2 separate regions of the Homo sapiens genome follow, and region 2 is linked to region 1. The links are contacts of gene promoters, found by promoter capture Hi-C in human tissues and cell types (Jung and others, 2019). All regions are on one chromosome and are shown on one strand. The core of a region is centred on a gene start or on the middle of the fragment in contact, and the rest is flanking DNA. Distances in the headings are between cores, read along the strand shown. Region 1 holds the start of DNAJB8 (DnaJ heat shock protein family (Hsp40) member B8). Region 2 has its middle 37 kb from the start of DNAJB8-AS1.

What was found. The method cuts DNA at HindIII sites, captures the fragments that hold promoters and counts their contacts. A contact is called where the count stands out against the background at its distance.
Region 2: a contact is called between a fragment that was not itself captured here and the fragment with the promoter of DNAJB8 in region 1, in 1 of the 25 tissues and cell types used here (IMR-90 fibroblasts).

What each region holds. Positions count from the first base shown.
Region 1 is chr3:128,464,956-128,469,514 of GRCh38, forward strand. It overlaps DNAJB8 (DnaJ heat shock protein family (Hsp40) member B8), which reads right to left and starts at 1,935. Exons shown (of 3, transcript NM_153330.6): 1 at 1,659-1,935; 2 at 321-481. All of the region lies in intron 2 of DNAJB8-AS1 (DNAJB8 antisense RNA 1), which reads left to right. The HindIII fragment of the contact is 25,608 bases long and covers 1-4,559 here.
Region 2 is chr3:128,424,528-128,428,671 of GRCh38, forward strand. It overlaps a transcript of EEFSEC not described here. Among named protein-coding and RNA genes, the nearest start is that of DNAJB8-AS1, 37 kb to the right of the region's middle. RefSeq lists enhancers at 1,683-1,882, 2,961-3,519, a cis regulatory region at 1,755-2,435 and silencers at 1,883-2,192, 2,223-2,272. The HindIII fragment of the contact is 9,653 bases long and covers 1-4,144 here.

The sequences.
Region 1 (4,559 bases), core at 685-3,184:
CCTTCCCTCCCTTCTTCACTCCTGGCTTCTTTCCTTCCTCCTTCCTTCCTTCATTCCTCCCTTCTTCCTCCTCTTCCTTTTTCTAGTCTTCATCCCTTTCTATTATCCTCCCTCTCTCTCTTTTCTTTCAGTGCTCATGGGTGCTAGGTTTCAGGCTCCTAGCAGGGGACAGTGTGTGTTCTAACCAATCCCAAATGCCAGGAGGAATGGAGACAGACTGTAGAGACACTTTGTAAACCCAGCCTCCAGTGACCATCGCTGTCCCTCCATGCAGCTTATCAAAAGCACGACTCGCACCCCCATGCTGGGCATCCACCCACCTACACCTGCTGACACATGTGGCTTAGCAGAGGAGTTGAAGAGCAGAACTTCTCCACTGGATGTAGCTACAGATGAACCTGATTCTTTATCTCTGTGGCTGGATTTTTGTCACTATGTCTCGGTTAGCAGTTAGCACCTGCTGTCCCTTGCAGGCTTGTTCCTGGGGCGGGAGAAAGATGCTTGCCCTGCACAGTTCTCCATGATGGCGGTGGCAGTGGGAGAGGCACTGCTGTTGACTGTGTTGCTGGTGGGGAGAGGCACGGTGGGTGTCCATGGAGATGGATAAGGTGTCATTATATAGTAGAGGTGACCATGGGAGCAGTGTTGATGTGGAGGTAATGGTCATGGTGGGTGTGAGGGGGAGAGTAATTATGGGTGATGGTGGAGTTGATCATGATGATGGTGATGCTGGTGGTGACAGCAGCAAGGCTTGTGCTTGAGAGTAATTGATGATGGTAGTGGTGGTGGTGATGGTCATGCCAGAGGAGATGGTAACAGCGAGCCTTTGTTGTGGTTGGCAGTGATGGTGCAGGTATGATGAGGAGGTGATGGGAATGGCTCCTAGTGAGCCATTGGTGTGGTTGGCAGTGGTGACAGTAATGGTGATGATGAAGGTGAAGGTGGTGGAGGTAGCAGAGGTTGTATCTTGTTCGGCTATACCACAGTGACAGCTTCCACCTCTCAGTGGCTCACGACAAACATCTAGTTCCCCCCACTTCACTCACTGGTGCCTACAGGCAGCTGCCAGGGCCCCACCTCCCATAGCTTCTCACTGTGGGTCCCAGGCTGGAGAATCAGCTCTGACCTGCACACCCCTCTCTCATGACAGTGCCACTCAGAGACAGCAGGAACTTGGGCTGCCTCTGAAAGCTTCTGTTGGGCCATGATGTGTGGCAGTCTTGCTGCATCCCATGGTCAAGGCCAGTATCCATGGGGCAAAGAATGTTTCCTTCAGGAAGGTTCTGCAAATCTCAGGGCAATAGGAAGAGAGGCCTGAGATTCCCATGGGGAAGAGGGAGTGAGCAGTTCTCCAACATATGCCAGATGCTCAAGATGGGACTGACAGCGGGGCTGGTAACGATGGCTCTGCTGGGAGCAGTGTTGGTGCTGCTGGTGCCGGGGACACCCGTGGTGGTGATGGGATAGGAGGCAGGAATTGTGCTATTAATGGAGGATGGTGGTGAGGGTGGTTGTGGAAGAGGCAATGGTAGAGGGGGGTGCCGAGGGGTGAGAAGGACACAGTGGTGGACATGCTGGTGTGAGTGCCGATGGCGATGGTGATGGCACTGAGGTGTGGGGCTCTGTATTTTCTGTTGCTAACTTGGCATTACACCAACCTCTTCCATGGTCTCCTTGCATCCTGGAGAAATCTGAGGGATTTTCCAGAATCCCATCACCGGTATAATTCCAGACTAGAGCCTGCCAATACAAGGGATTTGGAGAGTGGAAAAGAGAGGCCGTTGCAGGCAGGTGACAATGGTGAGCTTTGCAACAGCTCGGGGCAATCTTCTGCGAAGACCCTGCTTCTGAGCCACAGGCTGAGGCATGGATGGGGAGCTTCCTGGAATACCGTGAGCTCCTCAGCAGCTCCCAGGCAAGCTCTAGAGAGCCGCTCACCTGGGAGCTGCAGGTGAGCATCTCGATTCCTTGTTCCCTGACCGCTGGTCCCAGACTGTTCAGGGTGCAGCGTGTAGTAAATGTCCTCCTCCTTGGTACACATTTGAGGGCTGTGTACTGTGAGGGTGATGGCGGCTCAGATGAAGGTGGTGGTTGTGATGGAGTTGGGTGTGAGGATAGCAGAGAGAAAGCAGATGGTGACATCAGGAAGGCATTGGAGGGGCAGTGGTGGTGGCAGTGATGATGGTGGCAGTCTAATTAGAGGCAGTGGTGGGTCTGGCTGAGGCAGACCCGGTGGTGGTGATGGTGGTGGTAGTAGAGGGGGCAATGACGGTGGTGATGGCAAAGGCGGTGTGAGTGGTTGATACTGGTGGCAGAGCTGATAAGGTGATGTCACAGATGGGATGGTGGGTGGAGATGGAGGTGGAGGAAGTGTGGTGACAGTGATGTGGTGGTGACACAATGCTGACACGGGTGGAGAGCACCGTGGTGACGGTGACAGAGATGATAGTGATAGTGGGGCTGGTGGCAGTGGTAGAGGAGATGGGGATGGGACGCTGGGGTGTTGATGGTGATGGTGACACTGCTGAGGGTGTTGGTGGCCTGACATTGTAAAGGTGAAGCCTGAAGTTTCCATGACGATGGAATCAGGACAGTGGAGGAGGGGTGGTGAAAACAATGTTAAGAGACAAAGGACCTAGTATGATGAGGCATCCAAGAATCCTGTGGCCGCCTCCCCGTCCTGGCCCTCCCTGCCTTGTTGGAGACCCTGGCTCTGGTCTGCGTTGTACTCCCAGGGGAAATTTCTTCCAGCCACTGCCCTGCTCCAACCCTTGTTCCTGGGATGGGTCTGTGGGAGTCAGCCAGGATGGAGACAGGGCTGGAGACCCCCTCACTGCCGCCCATTCAGGGCTGTCTTAGGGCACACAGAACAGACCACTCGGTAGGACTTACGGGAACAGGTGTGTCACCTGGGAGCAGGTCCCACACCTCACCATCAAGGGCATCCTGAGATGGAGGCCCCTGTGGGGAGCTCCCCATGAAGGGAGCTGTGGACCGTGGAGCCGGGCAGTGTGCAGAGGAGTTTCCCTTCTGCAAAGGGTTCAGGCTAGTCTCCTTCCACGCCAGTTTTTGGGGAGCCAGTGGGGAGCATCAGGGGCTCTGAGGCCTCCATAGGGCCTGCTGGAGGGACAGGGACACACAGGCATGAGCGCACACTTAGGCCCCACACGCTCCACCGTCAATTCTGTCAGGCCACCTCCCCTCTTCAAGCCTCTCTGTCCTCATTCACCAGTGGGTGCTTTTGGGGATTTGCCCTCTCTGGGGAGCCAGCCTAGGCTTCCTGGCCTCAGATGTCCCATGTCCCTCATCTCAGGCCCACCCTAAAGCCAACCCCGAGCCATGGCCAGGGAGAGAAGGACCTTCAGCGACCAAGCGAGGCCCAGAGAGGGCAGGGCACACCGAAGGTCACACAGCAGTACCAGGAAGGTCTCCCCCGGGCGAGCTGATGGAGCCGATTAAGCAGCCAATTGGTATTCGGAGCAGCCAGAGGCCCCTCTCTGTCTCTGTAATTAATGGAGTGGCTTTTTAAAAGGATTCTAATCACCCCCGATCCTATCTGCTTATCACTAGAGTTCCTAATTAGATGATCCTGGCAGTCACTCAGCTAATTCCCTCCAGCCCCCTGCAGGCCTGCCTGGCCTGGGCAGCCCACCCCACCCCCGGCCACCCTGGCCCGGCCAGATGGGCAGTTTGGGGCCTTCTCTCCCCTCAGGGCCCCTGGTCCTCTAACTGCATTAGCTCCAGGATGGATGGGCGACAGCGATGGATGGATGGACGGGCGGCTGGATGGACAGAGTGGCAGGCGAATGAAGGGGCTGAACGGTGGGCAGTCACAGAGTGGATGGGCGGATGGACAGACAGACGGGCCAAGGGGCAGATCCCACAGTGGGGAAGAGCTCAGCCTGTCAGGTGACACAGCCTGGGTTCCAACCCCAGCACTGCCACTCCCCAGCCATGTGTCCTTGGGGAAGTCAATAACCTGGCTGTGCCCCAGTGTCCTCATCTCATCTGTAAAAGGGAAGTAATGATGGTCCCCTCTCACAGGGTTACTGTGAGGAGCTCAGAATGGAGAAGGAGCTGTGTGTGCGTGTGCTGGCATCCTGGCAGTGTCGATAATGGGTGGGCAGAGACAGATGAAAGGGCAGCCTGCCTGGTGAGCCAGTGGAAGCCATGGTAGGCAGACAGGCCCATGGCAGGCTTACATGCAGATTGGTGGCCCATGGGGTGGGAAGGCGGTGGGCTACGCAACCGTAGAAGGGCCAGTGAGCTCACGTCCTCCCCAGTGGTGCCAGGGCGATCTCAGCTCTGCTCTCAGACCTCTTCAGGCAGCCTTCCTGCCCAGTCCTCCAAGCCAGTGATGACAGGTGCCCACTGGGTTGCCCAGATCCCTTCCCTGCCATCCCAACCCAGGTACATCCTTCCTGGTGGTGGCTCATGTGGTCTCTGGAGGCTCAGATCTAGCCCCAAGTAGGGGTTTACTGCCTGAGTGAAGGCATCATTTGCGGGGCCCTCTGAGTTCCAAGTTGCTTCAGCCAGTTAGGGCAGCTCCCCTCCTCCAG
Region 2 (4,144 bases), core at 997-3,496, 40 kb before region 1:
CATGCACCATCATACTGCCTATTTTTTTTTCTTTATTGGTAGAGACATGGTCTCACTATGTTCCCCAGGCTGCTTGTGAACTCCTGTCCTCAAGTGATCTTCCTGCCTTGGCCTCTCAAAGTGCTGGGATTACAGGAATGAGTCACGGCACCCAGCCATTTATCATTTTTATTAAGGAAATAGTTCAAACATACGAAAAGTGCGCGGAGTATAATACAGTGAACCCCATGTGTCCATACCCACCACAACAAACTACTGACGCACGCAACAAAGTGAATGGAAGTAACAACCTCCGGGACCGTGTCTCCCGCCCCACCCCAATCTCCTCCCCCACTCCTCTCATCTTCTGTGGGCCAGTTCTAAAGCTCGTTCAGTCTAAGGTGGAGACTGCGGCGGAAGTGGTCTTTCTCAGGGAGGCAGTGGCGGGGTGGTCAGGGCCTCTCACCAAGCAGGTAGGACTGGTCAACTCCATGATTCTGAGAGTCTGCGACTCTGTGACTGGTTTTTAAAATTGTTGTTTGTCACATACAGTAAAAATCACCCCTTTAAACATGTAGCTCTGTGCGTTTTGAAAAACACATTCAGTTGTGTAACCCCTACCTGAGTCAAAAGAGAGAACAGGTGCACCCCCATGCTTCATGCCCCTGTGAAAGCACCCCTCGCACACCCGGCCCCAGCATTCACTCATCTCTTTTCCATCACTGTTGTTTTACACTTTCTAGAATGTCACATGAGTGGGATCACACTGTGTGTGGACTTTCCAGCAAGGCTTCCTGGCCTTGGGATTCATGCTTGTGGCTGCACGTCCCAGCAGCTCCTTGGGTCACTGAGCAGGGCCCCGAGGTGTGGCTGTGGACGAGCGGATGGATTCACCTGCGGAAGGACACTCGGGCTGCTTCCAGTTTGGGGTGACTGTGACTAAAGCTGCTCCGAACACTCTTGTGGGGTTTTGTGTGAGCATCGGTGCTTCTCTCCCATAAGTAAACACCTCACCGTGGAAGGTCTGTGTTGTGTGGCGTGTGTTTTACTGCCACGCGGTTTCCCACCCCAGCTGCTGTCTGCATTCCCGCCTGACTGGGCATTTTACCTTTCACTCAACACATTCCCATCGGGCACCCACCCAGGCCAGGCGCGGTGCTCCCAGTGACGGAAATGGCCAGGATGAACGAGCTCTGCCCTCCTGGGCCCTCCTGGGCCCTCCTGTCCTGTGGGCAGCAGGCAAGAAACCAGGCAGCCTGGGGACACGCGGGACCATCTGGCTGTTGGCAAGGGCTCCAAGGGCATGAATTAGGGCAATGCTAACAGGGTGACTGGGGCGGGCCTTGCTGAGGTGAGTTTGAACCGAGATTAAGGCAGAGGGGCCATCCCATCCAAGATCCGGGGGAAGGGTTTCCAGGCGGGGGCCCAGCAGGTGCCAAGGCCCCGAGGTAGGTGAATCGTGTTATTATGCTGTGACTCAGCGACTTTTTGGATGAATGCTGAGTTCCAGGGACCTGCTAGAAACCTTACAGTCATCCCCTGTTCAATCCTCACAGCAGTCCTACGCAGGAGGGGCTACTGTCGCCCCCAGCTTACAGCAGAGCCACTCAGGTTCAGAGAGGTTGTCACCTGTCTCGCTGCACAGGCCACGCGGGGCAGAGCCAGCACTTGAACCCGGCGGGACTCATGGAAGTGCGCTGAACACCTGGATTCCCACCTCAGCTCGAATCCCTGCCTGCAGTCCTGCTGTGTGGCCCTGGGCAGGTCACAGGTCCTCTCTGAGCTTCCGCTTTCCCGTCTGTAAAACCGGGCTGGCGCTGCTGGCCTCGCAGCCCGCCGTAAGCATCCTGTGGGATGAGGTGTGAAAATGTCCTGGAACGGTGGGGCCCTTGCACGGTGGGGTGGGCACGCACCCATTCCGCCCCGAAGGGCCGTAGCCAGCCAGGCCCCCTCCTCGGCCCGCCGCGGGACTGCGCTGCCGCCAGGCGCCGACAGAGGGCAGGAGCGGCCCGCGCCCAGCGGCCGAGAGCGCACGGCAGGGCTGGCAGGGGCGGCCCCGGCGAGGCGCAGCGCGGGCGGGAGCCCGAATGTGGTCTCAGGACTGCGGCAAACACCTGTCGGACTGTCTGGGACGCACGACCTAGGGACACGGACCCAGTGCACGGTGTGGGGGAGGAGGTTAGCGAGGGATCCTGGGCCCACCCGTCTCCGGGCTACCCCACCCCTACCCCGCCAGTCCCCGCCATCCAGCGAGGTGCCCCGGGAGTCTCTCCGGGAGAGCGCTGGCCCCGGGTCTGCGAAGAGCCGGCCTGGGGGGCAGGGCCTTAGGCTCAAAGGCCGCCACGTCCCCACGTGGCTCTGAGCACCGGTGATGTGGCCGTCCAAGATGAGATATACCCAGGGCCCAGTACACCCCAGCTTCCAAAGGCCTTCTGTGACAAAGAGAGACTAAACAATCACACTTATCACCTTTTGTATTGAGCTGAAATAGTAATATTTTGGATCTACTGGGTTAAATAAAATATGAAAATTAATTTCATTTTTTCTTTTTAAAATTGTGGCTAAGATATAAAATTAGGTAGATGGCTCTCACCTGCCGCTTGTGTTCTGTCTCTACAGGACAGGCCTAAGTTGGATGTCTGTGTTATCCCATGTAATCCCGTCCAACTCTCCCAGTGAGGCGTTTACTGTTATTACCTATCCCATTCTACAAACGGGGAAGCTGAGGCGCTGAGCAGTGATGTGACTTGCTCAGGGTGGGTTATGGGCACACACCCAGCAGTGCCCACCCCATGCCCATGTGTACCACACACAAATATTCATAACACATGCAGGGGCCCAGACTGTCAGTGCCAGAGTCCACGGGTAAGATGGAGAGACCCTGAACACAAACACGCTGCCAGCCTCCCAGCTCATACACAAGCGTCACCTGTGCACACCCAGTCTTGTGACAGCGTCAGGAGCACACACATCCACACTGCTGTTCCCAGACCCCCTGCTCACGCCCATGCACACACACCTACAGGTGTGCTGGTCTTCGAGGCAGGCAGTGTGGCCAGCCTCCCTCATGGCCCACAGTGCCATCCAGAAGACTGTATGGGGCCCTGCTGCTGACTGGCTGGTGGGCTCGAGACCCGCCAGACAGTCAGGCCCCTACTCACCTAGGGCTTGGAAAGGGGGCCCTGGCTGAGACTCCATCTGTGTCTGGGGGAGCCAGACCCGAGGGGAGTGAGTGGGCCTACGCGGAGCTCCTGCCCTCCCTGCGCCTGCCTGCCACCCTTCTGTTGAGGGCCCTTCCTCCTGGCTGCAGCCATTTGCATAAAGCTCCCAAGCCCAAGGATCACATTACATGGAGGCCTGATGATAATCTTTGTTGAAATAATATTTAACACATGCTGCACTTTTAATTAACTATCTGAATAATCTCAAATTAATACCAGAGCTTTAAAAATAAGTTTTCATTTTCGCGTTTGGTAACATAATAGCGGCCCGGCTGGCCCGTTTCCCCCTTCTTTGATTTAATTAAAAGCCCTTTTGTGTGTCTCTTGTCACTTCAGAAATGGACAAAAGCCCCCATGTGGGCCAGCCAGGGCTCCTGCTCGGGGTCCAGGTCTGAGGCCAGGGCCAGGGTCAGGGGTACTTAGGGGCCCTGAGGGCAGGTCCTCCACTGAAGCTCCCAGCCTGGCTCTGGCAGTGCCACTGAGGGAGGCCACACATCACACACACTTTTGCCCAGGGACACTGGGGCACGGTCACAGAGGCCAGCAGGCTGCCTCCCATGCATACAGACACACGCTAGAGGCAGGTGGCAATCTCCGTCCCTCGTCCATAACACACACCGGCCAGGCTCTGCAAACATGCCCACCAGACCCATGAGCCTCACGTACCTTCACGCATGCATGTGCACACACACAAAGTCACAGTCACATATACACCATTTGGGAATTGACAACCAGAGCCATTCTGGGCTTGGCATTAACAATTGGCATTCTAAGTCCAGATCCAAGAAACCTGGGGAGCTGCCTGGCCCCGGTGCATGACCCCTGCCCCAGAGTGTGTGATGTGTGTGTCTGTTGCTTCTCTCTCTCCCTGTCCTAACCTGTTGGTTCTGTCTCTGCACCTCTGTCGCAGGCTCAGGACCCCGAGGCCCGCCAGGTGGGCAGCC